Linked DNA regions of Homo sapiens: region 2 is linked to region 1. The links are contacts of gene promoters, found by promoter capture Hi-C in blood cells and fetal thymus (Javierre and others, 2016). All regions are on one chromosome and are shown on one strand. Each heading gives the region's core, a stretch centred on a gene start or on the middle of the fragment in contact. The rest is flanking DNA. Distances are from core to core; before and after follow the strand shown.

Evidence for each region. Contacts are between HindIII fragments. The CHiCAGO score rates a contact against its expected background, and 5 or more counts as called.
Region 2: a contact is called between a fragment that was not itself captured here and the fragment with the promoter of STXBP5L in region 1, in 1 of 17 cell types (total CD4 T cells). The highest score is 5.0, in total CD4 T cells.

Annotation. Positions count from the first base shown.
Region 1 is chr3:120,903,712-120,909,660 of GRCh38, forward strand. STXBP5L (syntaxin binding protein 5L) reads left to right here and starts at 4,494. Exons shown (of 27, transcript NM_001308330.2): 1 at 4,494-4,623; 2 at 5,860-5,949. The coding sequence starts at 5,868. LOC105374069 (a long non-coding RNA gene) reads right to left here and starts at 4,382. Exons shown (of 6, transcript XR_924399.4): 1 at 4,318-4,382. RefSeq lists a silencer at 4,326-4,565. The HindIII fragment of the contact is 9,292 bases long and covers 1-5,949 here.
Region 2 is chr3:120,500,324-120,505,440 of GRCh38, forward strand. The region is part of intron 2 of LOC107986121 (a long non-coding RNA gene); the gene reads left to right. Among named protein-coding and RNA genes, the nearest start is that of FSTL1, 52 kb to the left of the region's middle. RefSeq lists an enhancer at 1-412. The HindIII fragment of the contact is 1,631 bases long and covers 1,330-2,960 here.

The DNA.
Region 1 (5,949 bases), core at 3,244-5,743:
TCAGTGCCCATGAACTCTCAAATGTCTTTTTAGTTCTAGTATCCAAATTCCTGAAGAGATATTTTCCATTTTTTTCTGTTTTGTTTTAACCTAATACTCGAATTTGTCATAATTAACTTTTCTAATATAAAACACCTTTATAAAGGGATTTCTCTGGGTCCTCAACAGAAAACTACTAGCGTGAGGAAAGAACTTTGGAGTAAGATTGAGATTAGTCCAAATTCTTGTTTCAAAACCTACCAGATGTATGATATTGGGCTTATTACTTAACCTTGCTTTGCTTCAGTTTTTTACCTGTAAAATGGAGTTATCTATAGCTACCATACATTATTGTTGTGAGGATTAAATGAGAAAATAAATGTAATTTTTTTTTTGAGATGGAGTCTCGCTCTGTCACGCAGGTTAGAGTGCAGTGGCGCGATCTCGGCTCACTGCAAACTCTGCCTCCTGGGTTCAAGCAATTCACCTGTCTCAGCCTCCCAAATAGCTGGGATTACAGGCTCCTGTCACCGTGCCCAGGTAAATTCTGTATTTTAGCAGAGACAGGCCACCATGTTGGCCAGGCTGGTCTCGAATTCCTGACCTCGTGATCCACCCACCCTGGCCTCCCAAAGTGCTGGGATCATAGGCGTGAGCCACCGCGCCCGGCCAATAAATGTAAATTTTTAAACACAATTCCAGCTCATAGTAGATGCTCTCCTCAAAGGATGTTGAATTTGATGATCTTATTGTCATGGGCTAAATTGTGTCTTCCCAAAATTCATATGTCAAAGCCCTAACCTTCAGTACCTCAGAATGGAAGCATATTTGGAGATAGGATATTTTAAAAGGTGATTAAGCCACAATGAGGCCATGAAGGTGGACTCTAACACAATCTGACTGGGAGCCTTATAAGAAGCGGAAATTTAGGCACATGGAGAAATCAACGAGGGATGTGAGCCCACAGAGAAAAGACCATGTAAGGCCACAGAGAGAAGGTGACTATCTGCAAGCCATTGAGAGAGCCTCAGAAGAAAATAAATCTGCCGATGCCTTGATCTTGGATTTCTAGCCTCCCAAACTGTGCTAAGTTCCTGTTTTTTAAGCTACCCAGTCTATGGTATTTTGTTATGGCAGTCCTGAAAGACTAATACACATACAATCACTATTTTAGGTGGAGAATTGACCCGCCACCTTTTTTTCTATTCTAGTTTCTATTTAATCTTCTAAATGGTATCAAATAATAAGGCACCGATTAAGAGCATGATCTTAGAAGTTAGACAGCTTTGAATTCGAAGACTGGATTATCCACCTAAGTGACCTTGGGTGAATTTCTTAAATATTTCTGAGCTCCAAATTTCCTCTTTCATAAAATGGGGACAATACCTATCTTATAGAGTTATAATAAGGATCAAGTTAAAAGAGTTGTATGTAAAGTTCATAGTACAATGTTTGACGTAGTGCTAAATAACTGGTAGAATTATTATTATCTCTATATACAATGGATTATTTACATATGGTTTTGTCAATTTTGCTTAGTTTTCTGTAACCCTAGCCAGTTAAATTTTCTTCTCTGTGTGAAGTGCCACACATGTACATACTTTCTACAATTATTTAATTATTTTGCAGGTGTGGAAAGGCAGCCTCTCTTAGCTTCATTGTTGGCTTGAGTCCAAAATCACGAACACTTAAAGTGAGTTGTAACATATTTTCAACACACATCCTAAAAATCCTTCTGATGTAGTAGATTTATTTAAATGCTTTGATGATTTTGCTCCATGGATCAAGCTGAAAGTATTTTTCTTTTTGCAGTTCTTCATACTTGTCATTTTAGGAAGAAATCAAGCCTTATTCAGAAGCTGTACCTCAGCCATTCCTCTCCACAAAGTATTCTTCCAGTTTGCAGTGAATGATAAGGGGTCATCATTATTATTACCCGATCCAACTCTGAAGTTTCTCACATTATTTATAAAATATATGCTGTGGTCTGGTCTCATTGCTGTTAATAGATGGTTTATAAAATAACATCTTATTGCTTTTTAATTAATCCAGGATGAAATTTACTTCCATAGATATTTCATTATGCTTCTCTCACCTAGTAAGATTTTTAGGCTATTGTTTCTGCTGTCTCCTCATACACACAATGTACTCTGCCTCTTGCTTAATTCTATCCTTTGCTCACAGTTTGTGAATTGGCATCACAATATCCTGTGTGCACAGGCTCTCTGAGACTGCAATTATGTTATGATTTTTACTTGCTGCCATTCATTCAAATTAATATTCACTGGGCACTTACTATGTAGAAGACATTATGCTATTCACTGTGGAGGAACACAGATATTTGAAATAATCCCAAATAGTCCACAATCTAAGCATCCTAATGATCATATTTTTTTAGGCTTCCAATATTTATTTGGAAACATGAATACATTTTGACTTGGCTTTTCTCCCACTTCCTATACCTATTTGTTGTCCCATCTAACTCAGGCAGTCCATTGAATTCTCTCCAGGGTCCTCAAGAAGGATCTCTGTCAATCTTTTGTGTACTTTTTTCCTCAGCTCTCCCCCAATTTTTAGAATAAAGACCATCATTTAGTTTGTGATAATATGGTGCTAGTGATGATCAGTTTAAGAGGTTTTGTTTGCAAACATTACATCTCACTTTGCTGAATTGGGGCTATTCTCCTTCTTCGCTCCCATCAAAATGTCAAACCACTACTTGCTATAGGCTTGCTTTCATTTATTAGAAAAATGAAAACTCAGCCACTTTATTATAACCCTCCTTGCCTCTGTTTTTAAAAAGAAAAGACAGACATAAAACAAGGAAAGCAAACTCTTTATCCTTAACTAGCGTCCATACTTTGAGGTGAGCAATGGGCCAGGAAGAAGAGAAGAAAAAAGGTGGAAAAGAGTAAAAAGATACCTGTTGTTAGGGACCCAATACAGAATTTGGAACCCTACCAAGATCTAGTTTGTGTCAGACATATCACTTATTTCCACCATTATTTTTACCCCTTTCAAACATTATGTAATTGGGTACCAACTCATATATCTTTAATAAAAAATATTAATAAACCAACTCTTCAGAACCCTTTACGTGCCTATTTTAAGTGAAATATTGTGCCTGGTGCTAAATAATCTAGGAGAAATATACAATTCCATGCTTGCCTTCAAGAAGGTTACTGTCTAGCTGTGGCAATGAGAGACTACCAGCAGTGTAGGGAGTCCCAAAAGGAGTGAAATAGTCATTCAGGACAGAAAGATTCAACGTTGAGCTGAGGATCTGAAAAACTGAGCTCTATTTCATCTTTACCATTTCTTTGCTATGTCCTTGGACAAGTCATCATCCTTCAAGTCTCCTGCTTCCTCCTTCCCACTCTCTCCCTTGATTGAGAGAAAAGAGAGAGAGAGAAGAGGAGAGGTGAAAAAGAAGAAAAAGAAGAAAAGAAAAAAAGAGGTCAAAGATTGTAAGATGTAAGACAATATTTGAAATGATCACTAATGAGTTCTGTTGTGATGCCCAAATTGAAGTCTCAGTTAGCTGTGACCCGCTGAACTGCCATTCATTTCGCAAAGACATCGGGGTCCAAATTTTCCCGAAGTCAATAGCAGGTGAGGGCTCAGAACCAAATCTATCCTGATACAGTTTTTTTTTCTGCACTGAATAATACATCTTTCAAAATGATTATTGTGACTCACAGAAATAGCTTAAAATATATTCTTGATACGGTTTACAGAGTGAGAAATATTTCTTTAAAGAAATTAAATATCTTTGTATATGTGAGGATGATGGGGAAGGAGTAATTCTACTTACTAGAGAGCAAGGTAAGCAATCAATTCCTTAGGCTCTAGAAGGCTATATATTCTGAAACTGTTGAAATACAATTCTCCTTGGCAGATACGAACCATTAAGCCATTATTGGTAACAGCAGGGGTTAATCACAGATACAAGTTGAGTGCAGGTAGCAGGAGAGTGATGGGAGCCAGATAGATGCTCCTGAAGACCGGGAAGAGGCTCGCAGAAGTGAAAAGGTGCAAAACACTTGCTCAGTTCACCATACTGTCCAGAGCCATACCTAAGGTAAGCAACGCTTCCCGCATCCTCAGACTCCAGGCGTCCAAATTCGCACGCTTGCAGGCATTCTATTGATTCACACTTGAGTCCTTCAACAGGTAGCGCCAATTACATCCCCCAGAGCACGACCCCCAGCATACTGGCCAATACCGCTGTCAATCAAATACCTCACCTACTTCTCTAAATTCCCCCCTCCCACTGTCATTGGCTTTACCTTCGGCCTATCCACAGATTTCTTCTGCCCTGGAGACCACAGAACTTACCCTATCGAATCTAGGATTGGCGCCGAAGCTACTCCCGCCCTTTGACGTCCCCGGGCACCCCGCCCCCTTCACCTCCCAGCTTTGCCGGGGAAGAAGCAGGGCGGGGCAAGCTAGGGGCCGGCCCGGGGGCGGGGCCTGCCTCCCACGGCGGGAGGGCGGAGCCTGCTCTGGAGCCTGACTGCTCGGTTAGGACCTCGGAGAGCGCCAGGCGCCGCGACCAGAGGGCCCAGAGAAGCGGCCGGAGCCCGCCTACCTCGGCCCCCTCAGCTTCCCGGGCTGGCAGGCGGCTAGAGGCGTCTGAGGAAGGTGCCTAAGTCCTGGGTCAGATAGTCATCCCTCTGGGACGCCGCCGCCGCTGCCGCCGTCCAGCTGTGGCTCCCTCGCACCTGTGTGTGTCTGTGTGAGTGTGTGTGTGTGTTTGAGAGAGAGAGAGACAGAGAGAGACAGAGACAGAGAGCGAGCGCACCAGCGCGCGAATGCCCGTGTGAGGGTGTTTGTGTGTGTTCTGGCTGGGAGCGCGAATGCCTCGGCGTGAGGTGTTTGTGTGTTCGCGCGCCCGCGGGCGGGCGAGAGCCCCGCGCCTCAGCGCTGGGCCTGGGGGAGGGACAGCGGGAGCGGCGGCTCTGCGCGCCCAGCAGGCTGAGGCGGGACTCGGGCCGCAGCCGTCGCCGCCACCGCTTCACGTCCCCCGAGAGCGGCTGCCGTGCAGCGGGGAGAGCGGACGGCGGGCGGGCGAACAGGCGGGAGAGCGCGGCGGCGGCTGCGGGCAGAGGTGGAGGGAGGGGAGCAGGAGATGGGGAGAGGGGGGAAAGAGGACGCGGGGAGGGAGATGAGGGGGAGGTGAGGGGGAGGCGGAGGGACAAGTGGAAACAGACGGTGTCGCCGTTCTCCTCCTCCCCCCCTCCCCGGCAGCTGTTGCTGTGGGTCACTCGCAGATGTTTTGGGGTCCGGGCTGCTGGGGGATGGGGACTAGAAAAAGTACCCCCCTCCCCGCCTTTCATAGTGACAAAAAAGGAAGCGTTGAAGCTGATGGGGGAAGAGCCCGGAAGGTGGTGGCAGAGTAAATACCGGCTCCCCCAACGTCGTTTTTCTGAAAATAAAATACTCTGAGCCGAACGTTTCGAAGAAGGAAAGTCCGCCCTTAAGAGAGAGACAGAGTCTTGGTCTGTTGAACTCTGGTTTGATTGTATAATAATGATGATATAATGCTAATGACGATGATGACACTGCCTTTTATTTTTACCCCAGTGCTGATAAAGCGTAGTTACAGCTGGGGATACAGTCCTTGAAAATCTGATGTGTGAGGAGGGAATACTGTTGCTTTTGGAGTTGTGTTATATTTATCTTTTTTTAAAAAGGATATGCTTTTTAGAATTAAAATTTGGCAAAACGAATCCTGACTCTTTTTTTCCAGTCGGTCGTAACCAATGCTCATAAAATGGGGACTGACTTGACTAATGAAAAGAGAAAGGCTTTTACCAAGGTCTAATTGCACGTGTTAAGTCACCTCTTTCCCTTTTTTTCCTTTGTATTTCTCAACAGTGTTTAAAATGAAGAAGTTTAATTTCCGAAAAGTTTTGGATGGCTTAACTGCCTCCTCCCCTGGCAGTGGTAGCAGCAGTGGCAGTAACA
Region 2 (5,117 bases), core at 895-3,394, 410 kb before region 1:
ATTTAACTGTCCCTGTCCCTATTTATCCACCTTTATTCACCACCCAAGACCATTCATTACCCTAGAGCCCTCTGATCTATAAAAGGGGTCAAAGCATCAGGAGCAGGGAAGGAGTGAGAACCAAAAGACATCAAGAAACTGATTTGCTTGAGAAAAGCAGCGATTCTTCCTTTCATAGCTCTCCATGGCTGAGAGAGAAAATGCCCAAGAGATCATCTATGTGACTTAGAGACTGCTTTTTGGGACGTCAAGAGTAGCATGAAGAACTTAAGATAATGACAAGAGCCTAAATATTTAAAGTTTCAAGGTTTCAACAGAATGTGGATGTATTTGAACTTTCAAAAATGTCCTGTCACATCTTTCTTCCCATTACCTGGAGCTCCTCCTTTTCCCAGGCATTCATATTTCTTACCTCCTCCCCACCCGCTGCACAAATTTGATTGCATGAAGGATAAGGGGGCAGCATTTCTTTCTGCTTCTGGTCCTGGTTGCCCAGGTTGCATGGTATAGGGAAGGAGGCAGCAGAAACTCTAGGCCACAGAGGTGTGGCTGGCTGCTCTAGGGTGGTGAGATACAAGAGACTGCAGGTGCTTGGTGCCCATATCATGGAGTTAAGGAGCCCCAGGTCAGTGAGGGAAGAGTAAAGTGAGGAAGAGTAGGGATGGGAGAGAAAAGGTTAATAACGTGAGCAAGATCAGCTGGATATAACAGTCTAAGTTGGAAGTTTTTTTTCCTTCACGACTTTAAAGACTGCTTTCTCCATTGCTTTGTAGCATTTAGAGTTGCTGCTGAGAAGTCTCATAGTGTTATTCTTTTTGATAATCTGAGTTTTCTTCCTGTCACATGTAAGATTTCCTCGTACTCTTTATGTTCTAAGTCTCATTACAATGCTCCTAGGTGGGAATTTATTTTTATTTATTCTTCTGGTATCAAGAGAGAACTTTCAATCTGAGATTTATGTCTTTTGAACTGGATAATTCTTAGGACAAAAGCTCTCATGTTAAGCATCTTATGTTCCTTCTCTGTCATTCTTTTCATTCTCTTTTTCTGGATCCATATGCATGTAACCACTCATTCATATATTTGAACTCTTTGTCTTTCTGTGTTGAATTTGGTGTGAACTCCTCCTTATGATCTTCCCATTCACCAGAACTTCCCTTACTGAGTCTAGAGTTCATTCCATCTATTAAGTATTTTTTAAAATATCAAGGGCTATATTTCTATTTGGTTATTTTTGCATATTTATCTCTTCTCGCTTTATTTTTGCCTATTTTAGTTCCATGACGGCTAGTTCTTTTTATAATCGTTATTCTCTTATGGGTTTCTTTAAGCTTCCTTGTTTTAACCAATATGTCACACTGTTCATTAAAGTTAATTTCCTTCTGGAGTGAGTTCATGTTCTGAATGAATTTGTGTTCTGAATTCATGTTCTGATTTCATATTTTATTGAGTATATTTTTTTCAGGATTAGATTTCGTGAATTTTGCAATTTTGATTTGCAGGTTTATTTTAAAATGTTTTTTGTTGTTTTCAGTCTTTTTGTCTCTCCTCTGTCCCTGTGACTGTTTCTCTAAATCCAGTGGTTTTGTGGGTGTCTTTTCACCCGGCTTTCTGGAATTCCATGTCAGAACCAGGTGCTATAAATGCAGCTCAAGGCTCTAGGTCATGACAATGTCACAGATATCTCAGGTCCAGTCACCAAGCCAACATGTGGCTTGGGTCTTTTTCTGGTTTCAAGACTGCATCTGTATCCTCACACCTCCCTGGGCCCACAGATTCCATAAGTCATAGCTCGGTCTAAGAGCAATGCTTCAAATTCAGGTCCCTTTTCTCAGGTGGAGTAGTAGACTTCCCGTCACCCAGCCACCGCCACCTGATTCTGGACCTGGAGCCAGCAGGCCCGTGGCTTCAGCCCAACTCACTCTTTTGTATTCTATTGCTTATTCTCATCATGGAAATAATCATCTTTTTTTTTTTGTCTTGAACTCTGCAATGTCATCATTTTTTTGTTTTTTTTTTCTAGTTTATCCATCTTTGCCATGTGCTTGGGGAAGAATGGCAATGCGAAAGTGTGAGCTTCCCGTCCCAGCTTATTAGAAGCCCACAGCTGTTTTTAAAAAATCTACCTTTCCGGCTGGGTGCAGTGGCTCACACCTGTAATCCCAGCACTTTTGGAGGCTGAGGAGGGCGGATCACAAGGTCAGGAGATCGAGACCATCCTGGCTAACATGGTGAAACCCCGTCTCTACTAAAAAATACAAAAAATTAGCCAGGCGTGGTGGCGGGCACCTGTAGTCCCAGCTACTTGGGAGGCTGAGGCCGGAGAATGGCGTGAATCCGGGAGGCAGAGCTTGCAGTGAGCCGAGATCGCGCCACTGCACTCCAGCCTGGGCAACAAAGGGAGACTCCATCTCAAAAAAAAAAAAAAAAAAAAAATCTACCTTGCCATGCTTTCCCTTTTCTGTGACTGTTAATTAGTACATAGGCCATGGGCTGTCATGCTTAAAAACTGAATGGGAATTTTGTCTTTAGCAGTGTTAGGACGACTGGCTGATTATAAAAATAATAGGAGCCGGGCACAATGGTTCACACCTATAGTCCCAGCACTTTGGGAGGCTGAGGCAGGAGGATTGCTTGAGGCCAGGAATTTGAGACAAGCCTGATCAACATAGTAAGACCCCATCTCTATATTAAACAATAAAAATAATAATAATAGGTCATGGTTTTCCCTGTCAAGGGTCAAACTGTTCTTACTGAACAAGAGCTCTCTGAATTGAGTTGCAAATTCTGTGGTTCCTCAAGATTTACATACAGAAAAAGCCAAGTATATTCCCTCAAGATTTTTAAAAAGATATGTAATCACGGGATTTTAGAGCTCAAAGGAATATCAAAGGTCTTATATTATAGGCCCCTCATTTCTGGATCTGCAAGAAGAAACAGAAATTAAAGGTCTTGCTCCAAGCTTCATGGTATACTGGTAGCAAAGCTAGAGCTGGTTGGGTTCTTCTAGATTGGTATTTCTCCAACAAAATCATCCACAGCATATATCAAAAGTGATATAACTAGGAGGCTTGATAAATGATTTCTACTTAATGTTTAATTATTTACAAAGCAAAGGTATTTTACACCCAGGTTCCTTAAGGTCTCAGTTTCAATCTGCTGTGTTTTTTAAATAAAAATATGTGCATACCAGCATTTTTTTGCTCCAGATAGAAAGCTGAATTTAGCCAGTATGCTCCTTAGTCCATCTATCACATGGCAGTAACCTATTAAGTGTCTAATTTAGATAAATGTAAGAGATTTAAAAAAATAAGAGTAGATAAAATAATAGAAGTATTATGTATTTCAGGGTCCATAGACACAAGCATCAAAAGCTGACTCCGGCTGATTAGTCAAAAAAGTAATTTATTACAAGGATTTTGTGTAGCTCACAAACTTGTTGGGAAGGCCAGAGAACCAGACCTGAGGACAAACTTTCGGAAATGGCTCAAAACTTTAGAACTGGCCTGTTGAGAAAAATCAGTACTGCTCCAAGCACTGACCACTAGATGATACATGAACTAGATGCTTGCAGCAATTTGACTTTACTGAAGCTACGACTGCCCCAGCATCACCGCCATTTCTGATGTGAAGACACCCTCCGCAGTATGTAGGTGCTGTTTCAGTCTTACCTCTGCTGACCCTGAAAGCCAGTCACCCCTCTCACAATCCTCAGCAGCACAATGAATTCTGCCTAAAGCTTCTTTCTTCAAGCAAGGCTCTGCTGTGCTTGGATAATGCTAATTGGGGGACTCTCATTCACAAGCTAATGAGCTAGCTGCAATTGAGGGGCTGGGGAAACAAATTTTCTATCTGGGAAAAACAGGGCTTTAAATATGGAGATTTACCCAAATGCAGCAACAATGTTCATGTACCAAGCAACTAGGAAGGTTACCAATGAATTGCCAAGCACATAAAGGAGTTAAGGTGTCCATGAACGGAGGTAAGATCATCTACTGAGCTAGACAGTCTCCATTTACCCTTCTAAACCCTTGCTCCACCCTTCTCCACTCTACACAATGCCCTTGAAGGCTGAAGGCTGACTACATGGTCTGCATCAACCAGCTTTCTTGCCCTCTGCCTCCAGCTGGGTTTGGCCAGTGGGAGGGGCTGGCAGGAGCTGGGAAGGTGGCAGAAGGATGAGGTTTGGGCATTTAGTTTCCTCCTGGCTGGGTTGCAGGTTGTTTCTCTCCTGACAGCCCCTATTTGGTGGCCCCCTCCTACAGCTGCCCCTCCTCTCTCCTGCCCTTCAGGCCCGGTGGTTCCCACTAGGAAACCCTGGGACACTTACCCCATCCCTTGGGTTTTCCCTTACCCTTCACTACACCTGGTAAATAGTTTATTTTAAATTCTCTCAATAATCCCATTTGCATGTACTATCAGTTCCCTGCCAGAATGCTGGAGTATATTCACCTTCACTGTGACAAATGCTCAGATCTTATTTTCTCCTGTCCTCAATTAAAGTACTGGAATATATTTCCTTTTGTTTTCTTCTCAAACGCAGATCACTGATTAATTGAATTAGAAGAAGATAATATTTTAAAATATGATAGTAGGAGAAATCATTTTAAAGTTTTGGAATTTATTTTATATATCTCTAGCCAAGTTATTTTCAGTCCTGGGCATGCGATATAAAAAGCTCTAAAAAAGCATGAATTTGGGACTCTATTTCAGTCCAGGAGAGACTATGGCATATACATCTTTCATTTTTTTTTTTTTTTTCTTGAGACAGAGTCTCACTCTGACACTCAGGCTGGAGTGCAGTGGCATGACCTTGGCTCACTGCAACCTCCGCCTCCTGGGTTCAAGCAATTCTCCTGCCTCAGCCTCCTGAGTAGCTGGGATTACAGGTGCATGCCACAACACCCGGTTAATTTTTGTATTTTTAGTACAGACGGGATTTTGCCATGTGGGCCAGCTGGTCTCGAATTCCTGTCCTCAAGTGATCTGCCCACCTTGGCCTCCCAAAGTGCTGGTATTACAGATGTGAGCTACCATGCCCAGCTCAATATATCTTAAAAGAAAAAGAAAAAGTTCTCCTGCTGGTTCTCAAGCAAACCACAGATATATGGTAAGGA